Linked DNA regions of Homo sapiens: all the other regions are linked to region 2. Evidence: promoter capture Hi-C in 16 types of primary human blood cells and fetal thymus (Javierre and others, 2016). All regions are on one chromosome and are shown on one strand. Each heading gives the region's core, a stretch centred on a gene start or on the middle of the fragment in contact. The rest is flanking DNA. Distances are from core to core; before and after follow the strand shown. Region 1 overlaps PPP2R5A (protein phosphatase 2 regulatory subunit B'alpha). Region 2 holds the start of NEK2 (NIMA related kinase 2). Region 3 has its middle 2.3 kb from the start of LINC02771. Region 4 overlaps PPP2R5A (protein phosphatase 2 regulatory subunit B'alpha). Region 5 holds the start of LOC105372906 (a long non-coding RNA gene). Region 6 overlaps PACC1 (proton activated chloride channel 1).

The links. The method cuts DNA at HindIII sites, captures the fragments that hold promoters and counts their contacts. A CHiCAGO score of 5 or more calls a contact.
Region 1: a contact is called between a fragment that was not itself captured here and the fragment with the promoter of NEK2 in region 2, in 1 of 17 cell types (fetal thymus). The highest score is 5.8, in fetal thymus.
Region 3: a fragment that was not itself captured here is called in contact with the fragment with the promoter of NEK2 in region 2 in 2 of 17 cell types (naive CD4 T cells and non-activated CD4 T cells); the score reaches 6.0 in naive CD4 T cells.
Region 4: a fragment that was not itself captured here is called in contact with the fragment with the promoter of NEK2 in region 2 in 6 of 17 cell types (total CD8 T cells, erythroblasts, naive CD8 T cells and 3 more); the score reaches 6.2 in total CD8 T cells.
Region 5: a contact is called between a fragment that was not itself captured here and the fragment with the promoter of NEK2 in region 2, in 11 of 17 cell types (non-activated CD4 T cells, fetal thymus, naive CD8 T cells and 8 more). The highest score is 12.9, in non-activated CD4 T cells.
Region 6: a fragment that was not itself captured here is called in contact with the fragment with the promoter of NEK2 in region 2 in 1 of 17 cell types (total CD8 T cells); the score reaches 5.1 in total CD8 T cells.

The regions. Positions count from the first base shown.
Region 1 is chr1:212,323,684-212,327,390 of GRCh38, forward strand. The region is part of intron 1 of PPP2R5A (protein phosphatase 2 regulatory subunit B'alpha); the gene reads left to right. Among named protein-coding and RNA genes, the nearest start is that of SNORA16B, 27 kb to the right of the region's middle. The HindIII fragment of the contact is 5,536 bases long and covers 1-3,707 here.
Region 2 is chr1:211,674,250-211,677,757 of GRCh38, forward strand. NEK2 (NIMA related kinase 2) reads right to left here and starts at 1,372. Exons shown (of 8, transcript NM_002497.4): 1 at 1,135-1,372; 2 at 47-264. The coding sequence starts at 1,230. NEK2-DT (NEK2 divergent transcript) reads left to right here and starts at 1,513. Exons shown (of 4, transcript NR_148994.1): 1 at 1,513-1,617; 2 at 2,818-2,905. RefSeq lists enhancers at 1,076-1,335, 1,358-1,652. The HindIII fragment of the contact is 3,147 bases long and covers 772-3,508 here.
Region 3 is chr1:212,473,352-212,477,058 of GRCh38, forward strand. No RefSeq gene overlaps it. Among named protein-coding and RNA genes, the nearest start is that of LINC02771, 2.3 kb to the left of the region's middle. The HindIII fragment of the contact is 9,575 bases long and covers 1-3,707 here.
Region 4 is chr1:212,358,011-212,361,196 of GRCh38, forward strand. It overlaps PPP2R5A (protein phosphatase 2 regulatory subunit B'alpha), which reads left to right. Exons shown (of 13, transcript NM_006243.4): 12 at 676-777; 13 at 2,628-3,186. The coding sequence ends at 2,760. Among named protein-coding and RNA genes, the nearest start is that of SNORA16B, 6.8 kb to the left of the region's middle. The HindIII fragment of the contact is 1,771 bases long and covers 732-2,502 here.
Region 5 is chr1:212,429,562-212,433,155 of GRCh38, forward strand. It overlaps LOC105372906 (a long non-coding RNA gene), which reads right to left and starts at 3,256. Exons shown (of 3, transcript XR_922577.4): 1 at 3,064-3,256; 2 at 2,180-2,283; 3 at 400-770. NENF (neudesin neurotrophic factor) reads left to right here and starts at 3,359. Exons shown (of 4, transcript NM_013349.5): 1 at 3,359-3,559. The coding sequence starts at 3,383. RefSeq lists a cis regulatory region at 1,434-1,721 and a silencer at 3,145-3,594. The HindIII fragment of the contact is 1,512 bases long and covers 1,280-2,791 here.
Region 6 is chr1:212,383,696-212,387,400 of GRCh38, forward strand. It overlaps PACC1 (proton activated chloride channel 1), which reads right to left. Exons shown (of 8, transcript NM_018252.3): 3 at 3,196-3,405; 4 at 1,579-1,730. Among named protein-coding and RNA genes, the nearest start is that of PACC1, 29 kb to the right of the region's middle. RefSeq lists a silencer at 1,388-1,571. The HindIII fragment of the contact is 2,602 bases long and covers 351-2,952 here.

The DNA.
Region 1 (3,707 bases), core at 563-3,062, 650 kb after region 2:
AAATGGATTACTGAATGGATAAGCTATGAAAAACATTAATTTCTTTCTAGAGGAGACCCAGGAGTTAGGTGCCCAGAGAAAGTCTTTTTTAAAAAATGTGTAACATGGGGCTGGGCACGGTGGCTCACGCCTGTAATCCCAGCACTTTGGGAGGCCGAGGTGGGTGGATCACGAGGTCAGGAGATCGAGACCAGCCTGACCAACATGGTGAAACCCCGTCTCTACTAAAAATAGAAAAATTAGCCGGGTGTGGTGGTGAGTGCCTGTAATCCCAGCTACTTGGGAGGCTGAGGCAGGAGAATCTCTTGAACCTGGGAGGCGGAGTTTGCAGTGAGCAGAGATTGTACCACTGCACTCCAGCCTGGGCGACAGAACAAGACTCCATCTCAAAAAAAAAAAAAATGTGTAACATGTTCTTAAACCTACTACGATTATGCTTAACGATGGGGCTATGTAATGAGAAATTCATCATTAGACAAATTTGTCATTGTGCGAACATCATAGAGTATACTTCCACAAACTTAAATGGTATAGTTTACTACACATCTAGGCTGTGTACAAACCTGTACAGCATGTTACTGTTCTGAATACTGTAGGCAGTTTGCAAAAGGAAGTGTATGTGTGTCTAAACAAGAAAAGGTACAGTAAAAATAGGTTTATATGGGACCACCATCACATAAGCAGTCTGTTGTTGACAAAACTTTGTTATGTGGCGCATGACTGTATTTTCCAATCCTGAAAGTCATTTTGTGTCTTCTTTTTTGCTGGCCACAGGCTACTTAGCCTGTAGTGTTAGAAAAACATACTTTCCATTTGTATTTCACCTTGAAATATATGCACTCATCTTCATGATTGTTATCTCAATCCATTTAATTCTACCATCAAGGTAGATTGTTGATAAAAATGGTCATTATGATTAATTTTTTTTTTTTTTTTGAGACAGAGTCTTCTTGCTCTGTCCCCCAGGCTGGAGTGCAGTGGCACAATCTGGGCTCACTGCAAGCTCTGCCTCCCGGGTTCACGCCATTCTTCTGCCTCAGCCTCCTGAGTAGCTGGGACTACAGGTGCCTGCCACCATGCCCGGCTAATTTTTTGTTACTTTTAGTAGAGACAGGGTTTCACCATGTTAGCTAGGATGGTCTTGATCTTCTTACCTTGTGATCCACCCACCTCGGCCTCCCAAAGTGCTGGGATTACAAGCATGAGCCACCGCACCTGGCATGATTAATTCTTAAACATAGCCATGTTGTAATAATTCATTATTTATGTCGCTGTTGATATCCAGCACCAATTTTGAACTTCTCCTTGTTCAGTAGACTGTATTTCAGTGCAGTATCTTATTCTTCAAATTCAGAGTTTTTTCAAGCATCAAATAAATATTTATTAACTCCTTATATACCCTACCCTAGATAAAAAAGAAATAAAAAGGAAACCCTGCTCAGTGAATAATCCTTCCCCTTGAGGAGCCTGAAATCTTTTGGTGGTTGATGAAAGAAACATCTGTTGAATATAGGCCTAAAGATAATGGGTACTCAAATACGTAATTGAAGTTGTGAACACTATAGATCATGAGAGATGGGAGAGATCATTGTATCCTGACCTACCTAAGGGAAATTTTGTGGAGAATGTGAGATTAAGTTTGTTCTTAAAGGGCAAGTAGGATATGGAAAGATAGGGGAGGAAATCTAGTGAAGTATTTCAGGTAGGGAAAAGACTTTGAACAAAGACACGGCCTTCAGAGAATAAGAGGGCTGGTTTCATTCACATTGAGGAGGTGGTAGTGGGAGGAAGGAGAGAATAGGACTGGCGGTATAAGGTGATCACATAATTGAAGTGGGATCTTGTGTGAGTTTGTATTACTATTAGCGTTAGGGAAAAAGGGCTAAAATATATCTTAAAACTCTTTTAGAACGCAGCCTCTCAAGATATGGCAACTGTTTCACCAAGTCATCATTATGGAATTTATATTAATTATAAAGATATATATTATAAAATAAAGCCATATATTAGGGATATAGATATCTTTGAAAATAGATAACTGTATAAAGATATTACTGAATAACTGAGAGAACTATGGGGATTTCCTGTACACTATGGATTGAGAAGGATTCTTATAGCCCACATAGTCAACATGTATCTCGTTTAGTGTGTAGTACATACATAAGCAGAGGTGTCCATCTTCTAATTTTCAAACTAAGTACCAATATCAAGCAGACATCTTTTTGTTAGTTGAAATAAATTATTAGCAGACATCATTTATTAATGAAAATTAAATGCACATAACCATTTTAACTTTAAGGGTAAAAAGCCCCAGAAGATTTAAGAAAAGGGCCATTCAAGATACAACTGATTTTACAGAGAAGAAGCAGATTCTGCTTAGAATGACTAATGGCCATTTTGGGATTAAAAAAAGGTAGTAAACATAAGACTGCTGGTTATGTGTAGCATGTATGTTGGCTAGTGGTTCATTTTCACCCCCAATAGAATGAATTTTAATTCTGGGATAAAGATAACTGTTTAGCATATTACTTAGTATTAAAAATAGTTGCAAATTCAATGTTTTTTTTTTTTTTAAGGATACATAAAAATATTCCCACTTAAGAACAGTTCCATAAAAGGTGATCCTGAATCAGGGTGAGGTGGCTCACACCTGTAATCCCAGCACTTTGGGAGGCCGAGGCAGGCGGATCATTTGAGGTCAGGAGTTTGAGGCCAGGCTGGCCAACATGGTGAAACTTCATCTCTATTAAAAAAAATACAAAAATTAGCTGGGCGTGGTGGTGCAGGCCTGTAATCCCAGCTACTTGGGAGGCTGAGGCAGGAAAATTGCATGAACCTGGGAGGCAGGGGTTGCAGTGAGCCAAGATCGCGCCACCACACTCTAGCCTGGGCAGTAGAGTGAGACTCCGTCTCAAAAAAAAAGTGACCCTGAATCAAAAACTTTACCAAATTGGTAGTAAAAAATGTCATATATGTCAATATTACATGGATTCTGAATGCCAATCTTAGGCTTATAGACTTTAACCTTCATAAAGCAGAGAGTCATTATTGATTCTGGAACAGGAAATGTTAATACAAGTTCTTTGTAAGTGTGGAGCTATCTTATTTTACTGGCATAGCCACAAATGAACTGCAGCAAATTCAAGTCTTCATATTTTTACTTCAAAAATCATGTGACTTTTGCTGTTCTTTGTAATATATCCACATTTGTTTTATTGTAAAATTATTTAATAATAATTGATCAATGAAAAGAATGTGCCTTATGTCTTGTGACTTTGTGTGAGCATGCTTAGAATACCTGACCTACTACGGTTCAGCAGTACCTTATCTAAATCAGCTTTTTTAAGGACAGCAACTTGAATATAATTGAAAGGTAATTTTACTAGCTTCCTGCCCTGGAGTAATTACGAAGCATAGGCATTCTTGATTAGGTTATCATCTTTATGAAGATTTCTGCCTGTATCTTTATATAAAGTATGTACTGGTTTTGAATAGAGGCATAGTTTTGTATATTATGAGATAAATATCAGAGTTGAATATGATTTTTAAAATTTACTTTCAGAAGTTCAGTAAACTTAAGTGATTGAACTAATTGAATTCCTTGTTTATAGAATGAAAGTTCGGAAGTGAAGTTTTATGGTTTTGAAGGTTAGAAACAAAAGGATTTAACATTTGTTAGAATCAAATCAATACAGTGTGTCCATATT
Region 2 (3,508 bases), core at 122-2,621:
GAAACTAGACCAATTTCAGCTTACATTTTTAAAAGATTATGCTTACCTTTCCTTGGTTCCCTTTGTAATTACACTAGCCAGATCCCCTCCTTCACAATATTCCATTACAATGTACAGTGTTGTATTGGTCCGGTCAATAATCCGATCATAGTAACGAACGATGTTTGGATGTTTCAGTTCACGAAGCAAATTCACTTCAGAAACAAGCATCTGTTTCTCAGCTTCTGTCATGGAGCCATAGTCAAGTTCTTTCCAAACTAATATCTGAAATAAGAATTTCCAAGGTATGAATGAACTCATTATGCTCAAAAACAAAGAATGAAAGTTCCAAGATTTAACAAATTACCTCCCTTTTAATTATATCCTACAATCAAGGTCATTATCTAATTTAGTTCAATGAACTTAAGGAGCTGTGAGTTTACTTCCATAATCTTCCTCCAGTTCTAAGCAGTAAATGTATGTTGTGGGGAGACAAACGGGAATGAGGCACATGAGGACTCCCCCAACCCCTACCCTCAGTTGGTTAGTGGGAAGTTGGCTAAAAGGTACTATAGTCAAAATTGGGGTGAAGGTGGTCAAAGTCCCTGCCCCATTCCACCCCAGTCGTGTTTTCCCAGGATGAGACACCTTGGTAAAGATCCCTCCATCAGCAGCCAGGCAGTTTCCTGTCCAATGTTACTTTCTGTAAAAGTTCTACCTATATACATTGGGAAATATGAATCCAATAATCCTAATAATGGATATTTTGAGGGAGTCTGACTGCAGATACAAAGCTTCGGGTTCTGGTAGTCCTGCCCCTTTCTTGTGCCTGAGAGGGCCACTCTTAGAGCTCTAAAAACAGCTCAGGAATTAGTTACCTGTCACCAATGGAAGGTCCTTAGCAAGCCAAAGCAGGAGAAAGAGAGAAATGGGGAGAGAAACGGGAAAAGATGGAAATACATATATCAAAAGAAGCGGTCTCCCATCCTTTAAGCCACCCAGGACAGGCTGTCAGATGCAGACCCAGGAAAGACGGTTTAGTCTTCCGGGCACCCATTTCCTCAGCCCTGTCGGTTCCCTTCGGTGGCGCAGGGCGCTCGCCCCGAGGCGACGAAACCTAAGCAGGGGCAGGCGCAGGGTAGGTCCCACGCTCACCTTGCCATCACTCTTCCTCCGGATCTTCTGGCAGCGGCCGTAGGAGCCTGTGCCAATGGTGTACAACACTTCATAGTCCTCAGCCCGGGAAGGCATGGCCGGCCAGTCGCCAGAGTCGCGCTGCCTCACGCAGGTTGCGCCGCCAAGTGCGGAGCTCCAGGGACCAGGAACTCCAGGGACCTGGATGGAGAAGCCCCCGAGCAGCACTGACCCGCCACCCCTGCCTTGGGCCCCGTTTAACCGTCGCGGGCCCTGATCTCGCAGTCTATTGGCAGGCGGTGGGCCGCTTCGCCTCTCTCATTGGCTAAGAAGAACACAACAATACCCTAGGCATTTTGGGAAAAGTGTCACTAGGCAACCGCGTCGGCGTCTGCTTTTAACCTGTGGGAGAACCCGGCGAGCTAAGCCAAACGGAGGGCGGGAGAGAGGAAGCGGCAGCTGGCGCCTCTCGGCAACTCTAACCCTCTGATAGAGATCGCCAAGGTAACCGAGATCTAAGGTCCTCCCCTCAGGCTTCTTTGCACACCGCTTCCACCAGATGCCTTCTGACCTTTGCACTCTGGCCCCTCACACTACCTACTCTCCCCGGCACACGCATTCCTCGCTCAGGTTCCAGTACCCTGAACCTGGGTGGGGTCACGTTGAGGATATGCTGAGAGCTGAATACAAATTAGAAATACAGACTCCCGGGTGGGCGCGGTGACTCACGCTCGCCCGTAACCCTAGCACTTTGGGAAGCCGAGGTGGGTGGGTCGCTTGAGCCCAGGAGTTCAGACCAGCCTGGGCAACAGGGCAAACCTCGTCTCTACTGAAAATACGAAAATTAGGCCGGGCGCTGTGGCTCACGCCTATAATCCTAGCACTTTGGGAGGCCGAGGCGGGCGGATTGCTCGAGGCCAAGAGTTCAAGACCAGCCTGGCCAACATGGCGAAACCCCGTCTCTACTAAAAATGAAAAAAAAAAAAAAAAAAGTAACAGAGCATGGGGTTGCAGGCCTGTAATCCCAGCTTCTTGGGAGGCTGAGGCATGAGGAATTGCTTGAACCTGGGAGGCAGAGGTTACAGTGAGCCGTGCGCCACTGCACTCCAGCCTGGGCGACAGAGTGACACCCAGTCTCCAAAAAAAAAAAAAAAAGGAGAAATACTGTCGCTCTCCTACCAAGTACTTTACACGTCTTGTCCCGTTTATGTGTGCCAAATACACAATTAACCCTATCGACAATACTTCATTGAACACAGATTCTCTTTTACGCACCCACACACCAACGTTCTCAGCTTACCCAGCCAAATGAACAGCCCCATGTTTACCAGGGAAGGAGGACTTAGAGGCCTCCATCCAGGGCTTGTTAGAGGAATATGTAAATTACCAGAAAGCTAATAATTTGGAAATGCATGAACAGGCCAGTTTTCTTTAAATATCTGTTCAGCAAAGGATTAAAAGACACCTGATTTTCTATTAATAAGAATTTAAAAGCTCTTTATGTAAAAATAAGGGACTTATTACATGCCCTGAATATAACATAAGATAATTGGAATTGCCAACCAGGAGAATTTTTAAATTAACATTCAAGGGCACTGTCTTACCTCAGGGGAATAGGACCAATTTAGGTTTCAAAAGTTATGTAAGGCACTGCAAGTGGCTGTGTTAATTAGCATCATTTTTTTATTTTTGTGCCTCTTACAGATTGGTATCCATAGAGCTTGCTGTGGTTTGAATGTATCCCCCAAAGTTCATGTGTTGGAAACTATTCTTAATGCAAAAGTGTTAAGAGGTGAGACCTTTAAATTGATTGGGTTATGAGGGCTACCCCTCACGAATGGATTAACGTAATCACAGGAGTGGGTTATCTTGAGAGTCGGTTGGTTATAAAAATGAGTTTGGCTTTCCCTTGCTGTTTCTCTTACCATGTGATGCCTTCTGCTATTTTATGACCCAGAGAAAAGGCTGCTGCCAGATGCTACCCCTTGATCTTGGACTTCCTAGCTTCCAGAACCGTGAGCCAAATAAACTATTGTTTATAAATTGTCCAGTCTGTGGCATCCTATTATAGCAACATGAAACTGTATAAGACAGAGCCCTGGCCGGGCACGGTGGCTCACACCTGTAATCCCAGCACGTTGGGAGGTCAAGGCGGGTGGATTACGAGGTCAGGAGTTCAAGATCAGCCCGGCCAACATGGTGAACCCCGTCTCTACTAAAAATACAAAAATTAGACACAATGGCAGGCACCTGTAATCCCAGCTACTCGGGAGGCTGAGGCAGAAGAATCGCTTGAACCCAGGTGGCAGAGGTTGCAGTGAGTGGAGATCACACCACTGCACTCCAGCCTAGGCGACAGAGTGAGACTCCGTCTCAAGAAAAAAAAAAAAAAAAA
Region 3 (3,707 bases), core at 773-3,272, 800 kb after region 2:
AAGGTCATCTTCCCTGAATGAAGACGCAGCTCTGGTTGGAGGGGCCTCTGAGAAGCAGCCAAATCAGTCCTGCTAACCCACAGGCCAGTGAGCCATGGCCAGACCACTCTCCCATTCACAGAAAGTGGGTCTGTGCCTGGGATACACGGAAGAATAAGTTCAGTACATTCAAGGCCAGGCATGGTGGCTCATGCTTGTAATCCCAGCACTTTGGCAGGCCGAGGCAGGAGGATTGCTTGGGGTATACCCGTGGGCTGCCAGCTGGTCCAAGCAATGGGTGAGAAGGTTCAAGACCAGCCTAGGCAACAAAGCAAGACCTCCAGCTCTAAAATAACAATAATAATGATAAATAAATAAATTCAATACATATGCCAGGCCTTGTTGGTTAGAGACCAATGCTTAAGAGCCTGCGGAAGAACAGCTTACGACCACTCTGTGGTTTTTCCTCCCCATTTGGCTGCCTGAGCGGTGCAGTGGGAGCTGCAGATCAGGCTTCAGTAGGCAACAGCTGAATAGGCGAGAGGGTATCTGCACACCTTCTGGCCAGTCTTGACCTCGGGTTGGGTAGCAGCGAGCCTTGGGGTTTTCATGAACAGGTGACTGGGCCAGGTGCAGTGACTCATGCCTGTAATCCCAGCACTTTGGTTGGCTGAGGTGAGAGGATCGCTTGAGGTCAGGAGTTTTGAGACCAACCTGGGCAACATAGCGAGACGCCATCTGTATTTAAAGAAAAAGAGAGAGAGAGAGAGAGAGAGAGAGAACAGGTGGCTTAAGATAGGCAGGTGAGGAGCGGGGCCCTCAGTGTGAGCCAGTTATTGTCCATGCAGCCCTTTGGCCAGCCCTAGCTCTGCTGCAGTGTCTGGATCCAAGGGCTTCCCTCATGTGCTGGCTCAGCCTGGCTCCTCTGCTCCTTCACAGGTCCGCGGATCAAAACTCTTTTTTCGTATTTCCTTGAACAAACCATAGGTTGTAAAACTGCTGCAAACAATTATTGTGAAGCCAGAGGGAGAAAATATTAAGATATGTGGTGCTTTAACTTTTTGACTGGACTCACAGTAAGAAATGTATTTTATATTGTAATCAAGTGTGTACACACACACACACACACATATACACTCAGATACACACAACTAAAACAGAAATTTTCTTGAAACAATTATTAATTGTACTATATGCAATACACTTCATGTTTTGTATTTCATTCAATTTCATTTAAATAAAATGTGATTTGAGATGCTAGTTAGTGGGTCATGAAATCAATTTAGAGACTCTCAAACTACATTAAAAAACACCAGGTTAGCTGAAGATGCTGATAGCTAGAATAACGAACAGACTGAATAGTTCATCTGTCTTGACTCCCCCTGGGACCTGAATTTTCTGAGGTCAGAGGCTGAGCCCTCCCTGTAAGTCCTAATGTGGGATCCTGCACCCATTAACCTTCTGAAAATACAGACACTATGGCAAACACCAGGACTCCAAGCAGAAAGGGGGTCCAGGGGAGAAGGCAGGAGGTGCCTGTCTTCAGAGTTAACATTTCGTTGGGATTTATTTAGCCATAAAATGACTTCCAGGGAACAGGAAACAGGTTGAATGAGGCTAGAGAACAAGATGAGGACATTAGAGGCAAAACACTCCCCAAAGCTGTTCTGAGCATCCTGAGCATTGCTGTGTGATCAGCACAAAGAGGAAGGAATAGCGAATGGTTAAGAGGATAGACTCAGGAGCCAGCTGGCCTTGGGTGGAACCTGCCTTGCTATGCCTCAATTTCCTTATTCCTATAAAATGGCGATGTAGTACTATTCAATTCTTAAGAGTTGTTACCTAATCAGTATGCCAGTTATCAATGCTAAAAAAATAAAGCAGCTGAACTGCCCACACAAATCAGGCTCCAACTCTTGCCAGCGACGGTCAAGATTTTGGGGCTCCAAGTATGTGGGCAGGTCCGTGGCTTTCTTCCACATTGTGCAGAAAGGGGAGAATGTGGGTTTCTGGGCGCAGCTTTGCAATTCCAGCAAGCCTGGCATATGTCTTAGATGAATGAATAAAGGATGAATGGGTTCTCTTTTCTCTGTCCCCACTGACATTGCTTAGCTGAGGGCAGGGCCTCAGCTACTAGACTCTCTATTCCATACTCCACACTCTTGCTAAAATGATCTTTCTAAAGTGCAAATTTGAGAATGTTTCTTTCTAGGAGGAATCCCTATATTATGCCCCTGCTTAAACCCTTGGAAGGCTTTCAATGGTCTATGATGCATTCCAAACTCCCTTCTAGGCAAAGCCTCAGGCCATCTCTCAAACCCACTCTTCTTCTTTTTTATTTATTTATTTTTTATTATACTTTAAGTTCTAAGGTACATGTGCACAACGTGCAGGTTTGCTACATAGGTATACATGTACCATATTGGTTTGCTGCACCCATCAACTTGTCATTTACATTCGGTATATCTCCTAATGCTATCCCTCCCCCAGCCCCCAACCCCCTGACAGGCCCTGGTGTGTGATGTTCCCCCGCCCTGTGTCCAAGTGTTCTCATTGTTGAGTTCCCACCTATGAGTGAGAACATGCGGTGTTTGGTTTTCTGTCCTTGTGATAGTTTGCTGAGAATGATGGTTTCCAGCTTCATCCATGTCCCTGCAAAGGACATGAACTCATTCTTTTTCATGGCTGCATAGTATTCCATGGTGTATATGTGCCACATTTTCTTTAACCAGTCTATCATTGATGGACATTTGGGTTGGCTCCAAGTCTTTGCTATTGTGAATAGTGCCACAATAAACATACGTGTGCATGTGTCTTTATAGTAGCATGATTTATAATCCTTTGGGTATATACCCAGTAATGAGATTGCTGGGTCAAATGGTCTTTCAAGTTCTAGATCCTTGAGGAATTGCCACACTGTCTTCCACAATGGTTGAACTGATTTACACCAACAGTGTAAAAGCATTCCTATTTCTCCACATCCTCTCCAGCATCTCATCTGTTGTTTCCTGACTTTTTAATGATCGCCATACTAACTGGCGTGAGATGGTATCTCATTGTGGTTTTGATTTGCATTTCTCTAATGACCAGTGATGATGAGCATTTTTTCCTGCGTGTTGGCCACATAAATGTCTTCTTTTGAGACGTATCTGTTCCATATCCTTTGCCCACTTTTTGATGGGGTTTTTTTTTTCTCATAAATTTGTTTAAGTTCTTTGTAGATTCTGGATATTAGCCCATTGTCAGATGGGTAGATTGCAAAAATTTTCTCCCATTCTGTAGGTTGCCTGTTCACTCAGATGGTAGTTTCTTTTGCTGTGCAGAAGCTCTTTAGTTTAATTAGATCCCATTTGTCTATTTTGGCTTTTGTTGCCATTGCTTTTGGTGTTTTAGTCATGAAATCCTTGCCCATGCCTATATCCTGAATGGTATTGCCTAGGTTTTCTTCTAGGGTTTTTATGGTTTTAGGCCTTACATTTAAGTCTTTAATCCATCTTGAATTAATTTTTGTGTAAGGTGTAAGGAAAGGATCCAGTTTCAGCTTTGTACATATGATTAGCCAGTTTTCCCAGCACCATTTATTAAATAGGGAATCCTTTCCCCATTTCTTTTTTATTTTTCAGGTTTGTTAAAGATCAGACGGTTGTAGATGTGTGGTGTTATTTCTGAGGCTTCTGTTCTGTTCCACTGGTCTCAGGCCCATTCTTCACCACCCTCTTCACACCCTA
Region 4 (3,186 bases), core at 367-2,866, 680 kb after region 2:
CAGGCTGGACTGAAACTCCTGGGCTCAAGTGATCATCTCACCTTGGCCTCCCAAAGTGCTGAGATTATAGGCATGTACCACTGTGCCCAGCCTTCATGTCAATTTAAAATTGCAAATCTCCCTGGAGGTTGTGGTCAAACCCTCTTGGGGAGACCAACTGAACATTTGCAGAGGATACACAAACTACTCCGTTAATGCAGAGTTGTGTTGGTCTACTCTCAGTGTATAGTCTCCCCTCTATAAATGGCACTGTCCCAGGGGAAAGCCGAAGTGCTAAGGGTAATATATTCTAACTTCTTTAACATCCTTATCCGGCTTTCTACTTTTCATAAGTTTTGGTAATTGGATCTTTTTCATCTTCTTTTAATGTTGTTACTCAGGATTTCAGACATGAGACTGTAAAGCAGAAATGAAGATAACTATAGTGAACATTTTTAACTAGAGTTTAATGTAAGCATGATAAAATGGAAAAGATTTAAGTTTTCTTAGACTGTCTCTACCACCACTTGCTGTATGACCTTGAGCATATTACAAACCTCTTGAGCCTCAGTTTTATCATCTCTAAAATGGATTAAATGAAATCAGCCAAGCTTTAACCCATTTTAGAGACCATAGTGTTACATTTCCTCTCTGTTAGCAGTATCATAACTCAGGACTGGCTCATTTTCATTTCAGGACCATTGTAGCACTGGTATACAATGTGCTGAAAACCCTAATGGAAATGAATGGCAAGCTTTTCGATGACCTTACTAGCTCATACAAAGCTGAAAGACAGAGGTATTTGATATTTTGAATTACAAAATTATCTATACATTTTATGTTAGTTGAATGTGATTCAGTTCAGGAAGGTATCTTCTCTCAGTTCAGATTTTCATATTTAAGAAGTTAATTACCTTATAGTAAACATTACAATGTGAAAGTCTCTTAACATATAAGTCATTTCCAGATAAACTAGCCCCAGTATTTTTATAAATTTGTTAAAGCAGAAAAAGCAGTAGCATTTATTTTTGAGGGTAGTTACATAATTTACTTCCTCTAAATGGTTAGATTATGATTTTAATGTGGATCATAAATCCTGTTTATCTCATTCTGAGCCTTAGATTTCCTCAGTCTGTTAGCATCTGCATATGAAATATAATTTATGCTGAATTTTAAATATCAATTTGTACAATTTGATTTTTTATCCATGCATTTACGAAAATCCTTTTTGTCCACGTGGGCTTCCAGAGTGAGCTTTACTTTTCAAGTGTTCTTTGTTAGCAGTAGGTAATTCTTACGCTGTGGATTATCAGAAGGTGGTATTTTAAAGTCAGCATAGTTCTCCTTTGGGAAGAGGGAAGTCACATAATGATATGGCTTAGGGTACTATTAATATGTTGTCCTTGCAATAATATGTATTTTAGAGTATAAATGTTAGCACGTATCAGCCTTTAGGAACATGGCCTAGTGATTACCTCTTTTTGAGAATTTCATAAATTACTATAAAATAATCTTTCAAGAGTTACTTTCTTCTCATATGTTTATTTCAAACTCAAGAAGCACTTTCTTAAACTTAAGTGGTTAGTAACCAGTGTACCTGAGCCCACCCATTATTTGAGGATAACAGTTACCATTTACTTCTAATAAGCATATTACCTGTTCTGTTTAGAAAAGCTATCTATTTTGACAAGTTCCTAGTTATGGTTATCTTAAAGTAGAAAATGGATAGCCTTTCTTCAAAGCCATCCAGCCCATTAATAACTAACTCAATGCATTATTTCCTTTAAATAGCAGCATTCAGGCAGGAATAGAAATTAAGTACATGTTTTGAGCCTCAGGAAGCAATGGGAAGAAAATAAGATGACTAGGATCATAGGAAACTTGTATTTGAAAAATATGTATTTCACATGACTAAGAATATACTCATCATTTCTTACCTGCATAAATCAGCAAATCCTTTAAAAGGATTTGTCCTTTTAACTCATAACTGCAGAATTATAAGCCTATGTTTTACATGTTCATGGAGCCTTTCAGAATAGACAGGTTCAAGTTACTCAGAAATGTTTTCCTTAGAACTGAAATTAATTAGTTGAAACGACATATGAAATATTTTGACCTTCATTTTGTTCTAGAGAAAGATTACTGAAACTAAAGTTTTCATTTGACATGTAAAAGAGGAGCTAGTAAGATACAAACTGGTTAGTGGCTAGAGATGTGGCTGTTAGTGGCAAAAATGATGTGGCTTCTGTCTGGTGTGGTGAAGGAAGTGCTTCCTACTGACCTAGTGGCCAGCCCCTTCAGCCTTTGTAATACTGATTAGACTACTACAACTGCAAGATGTTTACGTGAGAAAATTGACGTGTAAGTACTTTGTTGACTATAAAGTACAGTGTCATGGTAGTGATAATGTGTAGGGGACAGAAAGCAAGTAGTAACGTCTAGCTGGTACAGGAGATGCACAGACTCAGTACATTTAGGAGAGTGACAAGAAGAAATTAGGTGCTCCAGGTAAGTGGACTCCAAAGCTTTAGCAGAGGGATTTAAGTGAAATGTGGGTAAGTAATGTGTTCTCCAGTAAGCTGTCAAACAGCACCTCTCTTTGGGTTCTGAAATAATTTCTGATTACAAAAATTTTGGTTTATCTACAGAGAGAAAAAGAAGGAATTGGAACGTGAAGAATTATGGAAAAAATTAGAGGAGCTAAAGCTAAAGAAAGCTCTAGAAAAACAGAATAGTGCTTACAACATGCACAGTATTCTCAGCAATACAAGTGCCGAATAAAAAAAAAGCCTCCCACCTCTGCCGGATAGGCAGAGTTTTGTATGCTTTTTTGAAATATGTAAAAATTACAAAACAAACCTCATCAGTATAATATAATTAAAAGGCCAATTTTTTCTGGCAACTGTAAATGGAAAAATATATGGACTAAACGTAGCCCTGTGCTGTATCATGGCCATAGTATATTGTAACCTTTGTCTAATCATTGGATTTATTGTGTCACTTCTGAAGTTTCACAGAAATGAATGAATTTTATCATCTATGATATGAGTGAGATAATTATGGGAGTGGTAAGAATTATGACTTGAATTCTTCTTTGATTGTGTTGCACATAGATATGGTAGTCTGCTCTGTATATTTTTCCCTTTTATAATGTGCTTTTCACACTGCTGCAAACCTTAGTTACATCCTAGGAAAAAATACTTCCTA
Region 5 (3,594 bases), core at 786-3,285, 760 kb after region 2:
CCCCTATGCTTTGAAAGACAATAGCAGTGATTACTACACTGAAACCTGTAACATGGAATGGTTACTACCCCAACACTATAATTGCACCCTTCTTGTAACTAGCCAAACGTGGATGGGATGGCAAAATGAGTCTTTATGGCTAGGTGCTTGTACTTCTCCTTGGGGTTGATTATGGGCATGTGGGTCACATGGCTGGCCATATGTGCCTTATAATTGGACTGGAAGATGTACATAGGGTCATCTTCATCTCCCAGGATGTATCCTCACTAAATTATAATCTCTCCCATCTAACTGGGAAACTGTAAAAGCTCGTCATAAGTGACAAAAGCAGTCTTCTTGGTTGTTTTACCCATTGGCTATCTGTCACATGTGTCCGTATAGAAGACCACCTAAACAGGCTTTGTGTGAGCAACAGGGCTGTTTATTCACTTGGGTGCAAGTGGGCTGAGTACGAAAAGAGAGTCAGCGAAGGTAGATAGGAGAGGGGCAGCTTTATAGGACTGAGGTAGGCAGTGGAATGTTACAGTTAGAGGTGGTTATCTATTGTCAGCAGAGGAGGGGGTCACAGGGTCCATGGTGGGGAGATCATAAGATTCATTGTCCAGAAGAAGAATGTCACAAGGTCGATTGATCAGTTGGGGCAGGACAGGAACAATTCATAATGGTGGAACGTCGTAAGGCTGGTCAATCAGTCAAGGCAGGAGCTTCTTTTGTTGCACTTCTTTTGTGTTTTTTTGGCTGCTCCAGACTTCTTGGCTCCTGCAGGCCATCTGGACTTATAGGTGCAGGTCACAAGGGTTACAATGGCTGAGCTTCAGCTCAGAGGCCTGACACTGTCTTCTCCCCACAGGCAGCCACAATTGACATTGAGCTTCAAGCCAAAGCCATAGCTAAACACAGCTGCAGTTTTCAATAATACACGCCATGCCCTTACCCTCTTGACTGAAGAAACATCTCAAATTAGACAGATAGCCTTATGAAACTATGGCTCTGGACATGTTAACAGCAGCTCAAAGGGGGAACTTATGCTATAATCAAAACAGAATGTTATGCATACATTCCAGACTATTCACATAATGTTACTCAGGCCACAAAAGACTTAGACACCCACATCTCTGCCATTGACACGCTGTCAGTTGACCCCATATCAGCTTGGTTCTAACAACTGCCTAGTCCTTGGGAAACTTTTTTTGTTTAGCATGCTTGGGATAATTCTATTCATTCTGTTTTGTGCTGTGGAATATACTGCATTGTACTTTTTATGTAGGAATAAGAGTTAAGCTTATTCAATGCTTCTTTAAATTTAACACGTTAATTTTCTAGATTTCACCTTTTTCTGGGACTTAGAATTATGTATGATTGGTCCTCACTATACAGATGCTTTCTGACTGGCTAGCTCTCTACTTTGGGCAAAGGGATCCTAATGGTTAGGCAGGAATATCATCGCTTCTGTTCAGCTTGAAGTTACTGAAGATGGATCTCTGTCCCCCTGCACCCCTTAGGATTAAAGGTCTCCTTGTAAAAAGGAGGAGGGAATTATGTCAGAAGTGTCCTAACCAGAGTGATTCCATCTTGAATAAAGGTCAGATAAAGCCAAACCTGCTGGGCGACTTTCCCAGGAAGATAGGCACTCTTCACAAGATGTTTATGGTTGAGGAAATGAGATAATGGAAAAAGGCATTCTTAGTTTAAAAATGAGTTTCACTTTAAAGATAACAGTACACCCATAAATTCTCCCTGAAGTCAATAGTTACACAAGAGAATAACAATACTAATAGTCTGTAACAAGCTGATCATAGGCTTTTGTAATGAAGTACGCTAGTTTTAGCCCTATAAAAGCAAGCATTACATTGAAGGCAGAGGTGCTCCTATATAAACAATACTTGCTTAGTACTACTTCAAAGCAAGGATACTACTCAGAAACACAGTAGTACTATTATTAGAAATGGAGTAGTTTCTAATGAACTATTTTAACTACTATGCTCTGCGACTTGCCCTGATTCTTTGCCGTGGACGTCTAAGAACCTGCTCTTGGGTCTGGAATGAGACCCTTTTTCTGTTAATTCCTCTATTCCAGTCTTGAAAGTAAAAGCCAGTCTTGAAAATAACCTGTGAAGCCCCCAAGATCCACCCCCACTCCCTTACCCGCTTCCTTCCTGACTTCACCTACCCCTCTTACCTTCCCTTGATCCTCCAGCAAGCCGGGCATCCTCATTCCTCCGCATTTATGCACCTGATCCTTTGACCAAAGTGCTCTTCCCTCTAGACCGCCTCCTTCGCCTCCTGTAGATTTTTATGCAAATACCCTGTTCTCAGTGAGGCCTTCCCTAACCTGCCTATTTAAAATGACCATCCCCATAACCGGGCACCGTTCCTCACACCTGTAATCCCAGCACTTTGGGTGGATGAGGTGGATGGTTCACTTGAGGCCAGGAGTTCGAGACCAGCCTGGCCAGCATATAGTGAAACCTCATCTCGACTAAAAATTAAAAAAAAAAAAAATTAGCCAGGCGTGGTGGTGGGTGCCTGTAATCCCAACTACTCTGGTGGCTGAGGCAGGAGAATCACTTGAACCCGGAAGGTGGAGGTTGCAGTGGGCCGAGATGGCGCCACTGCACTCCAGCGTAGGCGACAGACTCCGTCTCAAAAATAAATAAATACATAACAATAAAATAAAATAAAATGTCCATCCCAGTGCTCCCTATCTCTTTGCCCTACTTTTTCTCCCTAGTATTTACCACCATCTAACATACTACTTAGCATCTTATTGTCTATCTGCCCACACAATGTAAGCTTCACGTGGGCGTGGATCTGTCTTGTTCAGTGGTGAGTCCCCAGTGACCTGGTACATGGAGGTACTCAAAAATATTTGTTGCATAAAGTAATGAGCAAAGTTTGGCACAAATGTTAGCTATTATTATTTCAGGGCGTATCGGTAACAGCACCCTACCCTTTGCAAAAATCTCCTTGGGAACCAGAAACTTAAACACAACCAGGAAGAAAAAAAATCAGCCAAAAATAAAAGCGAATTAAGACAGTTGGGGTCTTATTTTAGAAATATACCTTTCTAGGTTCTGGTATGTTGGGCTCTGTCATCTTTCTACCTGATCAAGGAACCACTGTGACATTTTTTGGTAACTTCCAGTCTGTAGTTTGGATTTAGGAGTTCAGGATTCCAATCCTAATTTCCAGGTTCCAGCTGCGTGGCCCGAGTAGCCCGGCCAGCCCCACCCCGGGGCGCAGGAGGCGCGCGAAGGGCGGGAGTTCTCGGGTCCCCGCCCTCGGGGAGGCTCTGGGCGCGGGGCGGGACTCCGGGACGCTGGGCGGGCGTGCTAGGGCCCCGCCGCCCTGGCCCGGCCTTGCCTTGCGCTGCGCGCTCACCATGGTGGGCCCCGCGCCGCGGCGGCGGCTGCGGCCGCTGGCAGCGCTGGCCCTGGTCCTGGCGCTGGCCCCGGGGCTGCCCACAGCCCGGGCCGGGCAGACACCGCGCCCTGCCGAGCGGGGGCCCCCAGTGCGGCTTTTCACCGAGGAGGAGCTGGCCCGCTATGGCGGGGAGGAGGTAGGCGGGGGTGTCGCGGGCCGAGGGACCCGGGG
Region 6 (3,705 bases), core at 402-2,901, 710 kb after region 2:
TTTCTGTTTCTCTAATAGGCCTCTCCCTTGCATGGGAAAGCTAAGTATGCTCTGTGGAAGCACACTGAGTTTTCCAGTGTGTTTTACTCTGGGAAGAGTCCTTTCCTTTAGTTCTCTCTCCTTTTCCATTGTAGAAGTCTGCTCTGTTTCCTATGCCTACACAAAGAATCATCTTCCCTTCGCTTCTGTAGAGAATGGTTCCAGGGTCTTTTACCCAGAGGCAACCATCCCCAGCGGCTCTGCATACCTGGGGAGGGTATAGGGTGTGTCTGGCCCAGCCAACAGGCAGTCCAGTAATGACTACCCTGCTCTCTAACGGTGCTGATTCCAAGCTGGGGGTTTGGAAGGAAAGCTTGTACCTCTACAACAGGTCTCTCCTTCATCTGTTTTGGGTTAGGGATTTGCTCTAATTTGTTTGCTCCACCAATCTGGCCCAAGCTGTTTTTTATGCTTTATACCAGTTCCTCAAAATGTCTGGTCCACTGGTGATATCCTTTCTTCACGTGCAAAGCTATTATTGATGTTCTAGTCTGTTCTATCTCATTCCTTAGAGAATCATTTTAGCAGGATTTTAGGAGGGGGCCTAGCGTTCACATACTAACAAAAAAAAAATTAGTGTTATTCTTTCATCTTAAAACCCACTAACAGTTCCCTGTTACCCAAGGGAGCAAGTGTGGCTCTACAGCACGATGCATGTTCTTTTCTCATCTGGCCATTACTCTGTCCACAGCTTCATCACCCATCAGTCTTCCAGGGCTCCTGACCCTATGAAACATTTCCCCACCAACTGCAATTGTGCCCAGAGGCACAAGTACAACATGTCGTCTCTTCCCTTTAGGTCATGGTGCAATTTCCTCTGCCTAGAAAACCTTTCCTTCCCAATTTCATCTGGAAAACTATTGTAGCCCCTTTCAATGCTTTCTGAAGCAAGAATATGAAATGAAAAAGATGAGATGTAAATCAATACAAAACGCCTACCCTGTCTTTGAAACCCTGTGCAGTGCCACTCCTCCAGGGCGCTCCTAACCCCATCCCTCAGTCATCCTTCCCAGCCGTGCTGTGTTGTGCACGACAGCATGGCCAGCCCAGGGCCCAGGAGTCCTTGTCCCCAGACCGACGCTCCTTTACGCTGGCGTATTAATTTCAAACTATGGATTCTCAGGCCCCACCTAAGGAATTATAATTCAGTTGGCTTCACATGGAACCTAGAAATTCATATTTTCAAAAAGTATCCTGGCAATTCTGTCAAGTGGTCAGGTATGGGACCCACTTCGCTATATCGCACCAGCCCCACCCTTTAGCCCTGCCATTCTTCCATTGGGGACAGGGTCTCACCGCACTGTCAGGAATCCCTGAGCATTACTCAGCAAAGGCTGGAGGCCTCACTGTCCTCCCTGAATGCAAGTGAGCCAACCACAGCCAAGTGTCCACATGGCACAGCCGCATGTCTCCTTGGGGACTAAGGCCCCACACTGAGTGAGTGGAAGAAGGACTCCTAGGAAAAAGGAAACTTGGGGCCTTGGGTTGCGGGGCTAACAGAGCAGCTGCCCAGACCCAGCTCAGGCAGACAGGAATTACCACAGTCTGATTGGAGAAGGGGTCCGTGTAGTTGATCCTCTGGGTGGTGCAATTCATGTCACCCGGCTGGCCAGGGCTTGTCAGAGGAGGAATGACCTCGTAATGGTGCTTACAGCTGAGCAACTGGGCCTGACCGGGGTACAAGGCAATACCTGGGGGCACAAACAGGAAAAGCAAGTGTCAGAAATCACACTCCTGACCACATCCCTGAAATCATCTCACACCTACCAACAACCTACGTTCTGGACTCCCTGGAGGACTGCAGGGAAGGGAGAAGAAAAGGGTTTCAGAGGGTGAGGAGCCACATCCCCTGGCCTCAGAAAGCCCCGCTGTAGCAGAGGGCACAAGCCCCTCCTCAGTAAGCCCCTGGCCAACCTGGGATCCAGCCGCCCTGATGCCCACATCAAAACCCACTCCACCTCAGAGCCCCGCTCCACACCCTCCGAAGGAGTGTCTCTTGACTCAGCCCCTGTGCCACCCCTCTGGGCCAACACCCACCTGCAGAATCACTGGGAGGCTCTAAACTGTGGAACTCCTCAGAACTCATTTTGTCTCTTAGACTGGGAGCCCCAAGTGTGCAAGTCACATCCCAAGAGTCCCTCCCTCTTCCCAGCCCAGGCACCTCTACTGACAGTAGCTGTCCAGCCTCAAGGGCAGCAATGCTAAGACAGCAGCACATGGCATCAGAGACAGACAGACTTCAGAGACACTAAGACACCAGACAGAGAAAGTAAAACGTACAGATAAAGAAGACTCAAGCAGACACACAGAGAAGAGGGACAAACACAAGACAGGAAGAGATGGGCAGAGGAGCCATGACCAGCACACCTGACTCTGCTGGAGGCTGGCAGGAAGCCCCAGAGAGAGGGCACCCGGACTCTGGCTCTGCCATGTGAGCAGGCCCTCCCACAGGTTACTCAGGGGCATCTGTGGGCAGAACAGGTGGCACACACTGGGTGGACAGGGCCCAAGTCACACAGCTCATGCCTCCTCATTTACTCTACAGCCCCTAGAACATCCAGTGCCAGCCCTGCAGCCCAGAGCAGATAGCTTGCTCTATAGCAGAGTGGACTCCCCACTCAGGGACCAGACACCCCAGTGAGACAGGTATACCCAGTGTGGCCTGGGAGTCCCTCTCCAGGCAGGGTTGAATGGCCTCGCCTCCCCTGCCATCCTCCCCACCCCACAGTCCAGCCTTGACTCCTGCTTCTCCTCATCCCTGCCCTCTGGCCCCAGCCAAGTTAGTCTCATCCTCTCCAGAGAAGCCCTCTGCCTCCCTAGACACCCCTTCGCTCTGCTGATCCCCATCCCAAAGACACTCTCTTCCCATCTATGTGCTTTTCGAGGCCCATCTCAAATCCTACCTCTCTGCCAAGCTTTCCCTGACCCCTCTAGTAGCCTGCAGTAGCTGCTCCAGGCTCTGTCCATTTCTGTCCTCAGCACGTAACACACTCCCAACAGCAGCTCCTTGGGCATAGACTCTATACCTAGACTATGCTTGGTTGGACTCCTCTGCCCTGCCCGTAGTACCACAAATACAACGGCAGCTCAGGGAGTATCTGCCAGCTGACACCCTAGATCTGGGGCCCTGATGCCTGGCCCAGGGGCAGGCTCTACCTGGGGCATCATAGCGATCCACTTCCTTGTAAGACACAGACATGACAGGGTGCTTGAGTTTCTCACGAAAGTCTGTGATGGTCCGGTAGACCAGGAAGACGGCCACAGCCATGAGCAGCAGGTAGATGAAGATGAGTAGGACCGAGAAGACGTTCTTCAGGCAGGCCTTGCTGAAGCGGATGCTGCTGGAGGCGGACTCGCTGTCCAGGCCTGACAACAACAAAACACCATGTGACCCAGGGCACAGGGACAAGGTACAGACAGAGATGGCCAGCAACCTCCAGGCCCTTGCCTGCCTCACCAAGGAGGTGAAGTCACCTGCACGCCCAACCTTTCCACCTCACCCCACAAATCATAACAAAGGGCACCTGTAAACATTTACTACACAGCTTCTCTGCCAGGTAGAGGACACCAAGCTGAAGGAGACTTATTCATTGTCTTTAAGGAGTTTACTCTCAAAAGAAAAAAGATAAAAGATAAAAAACGATAAAAATGTTAAAAGAAAAAGCA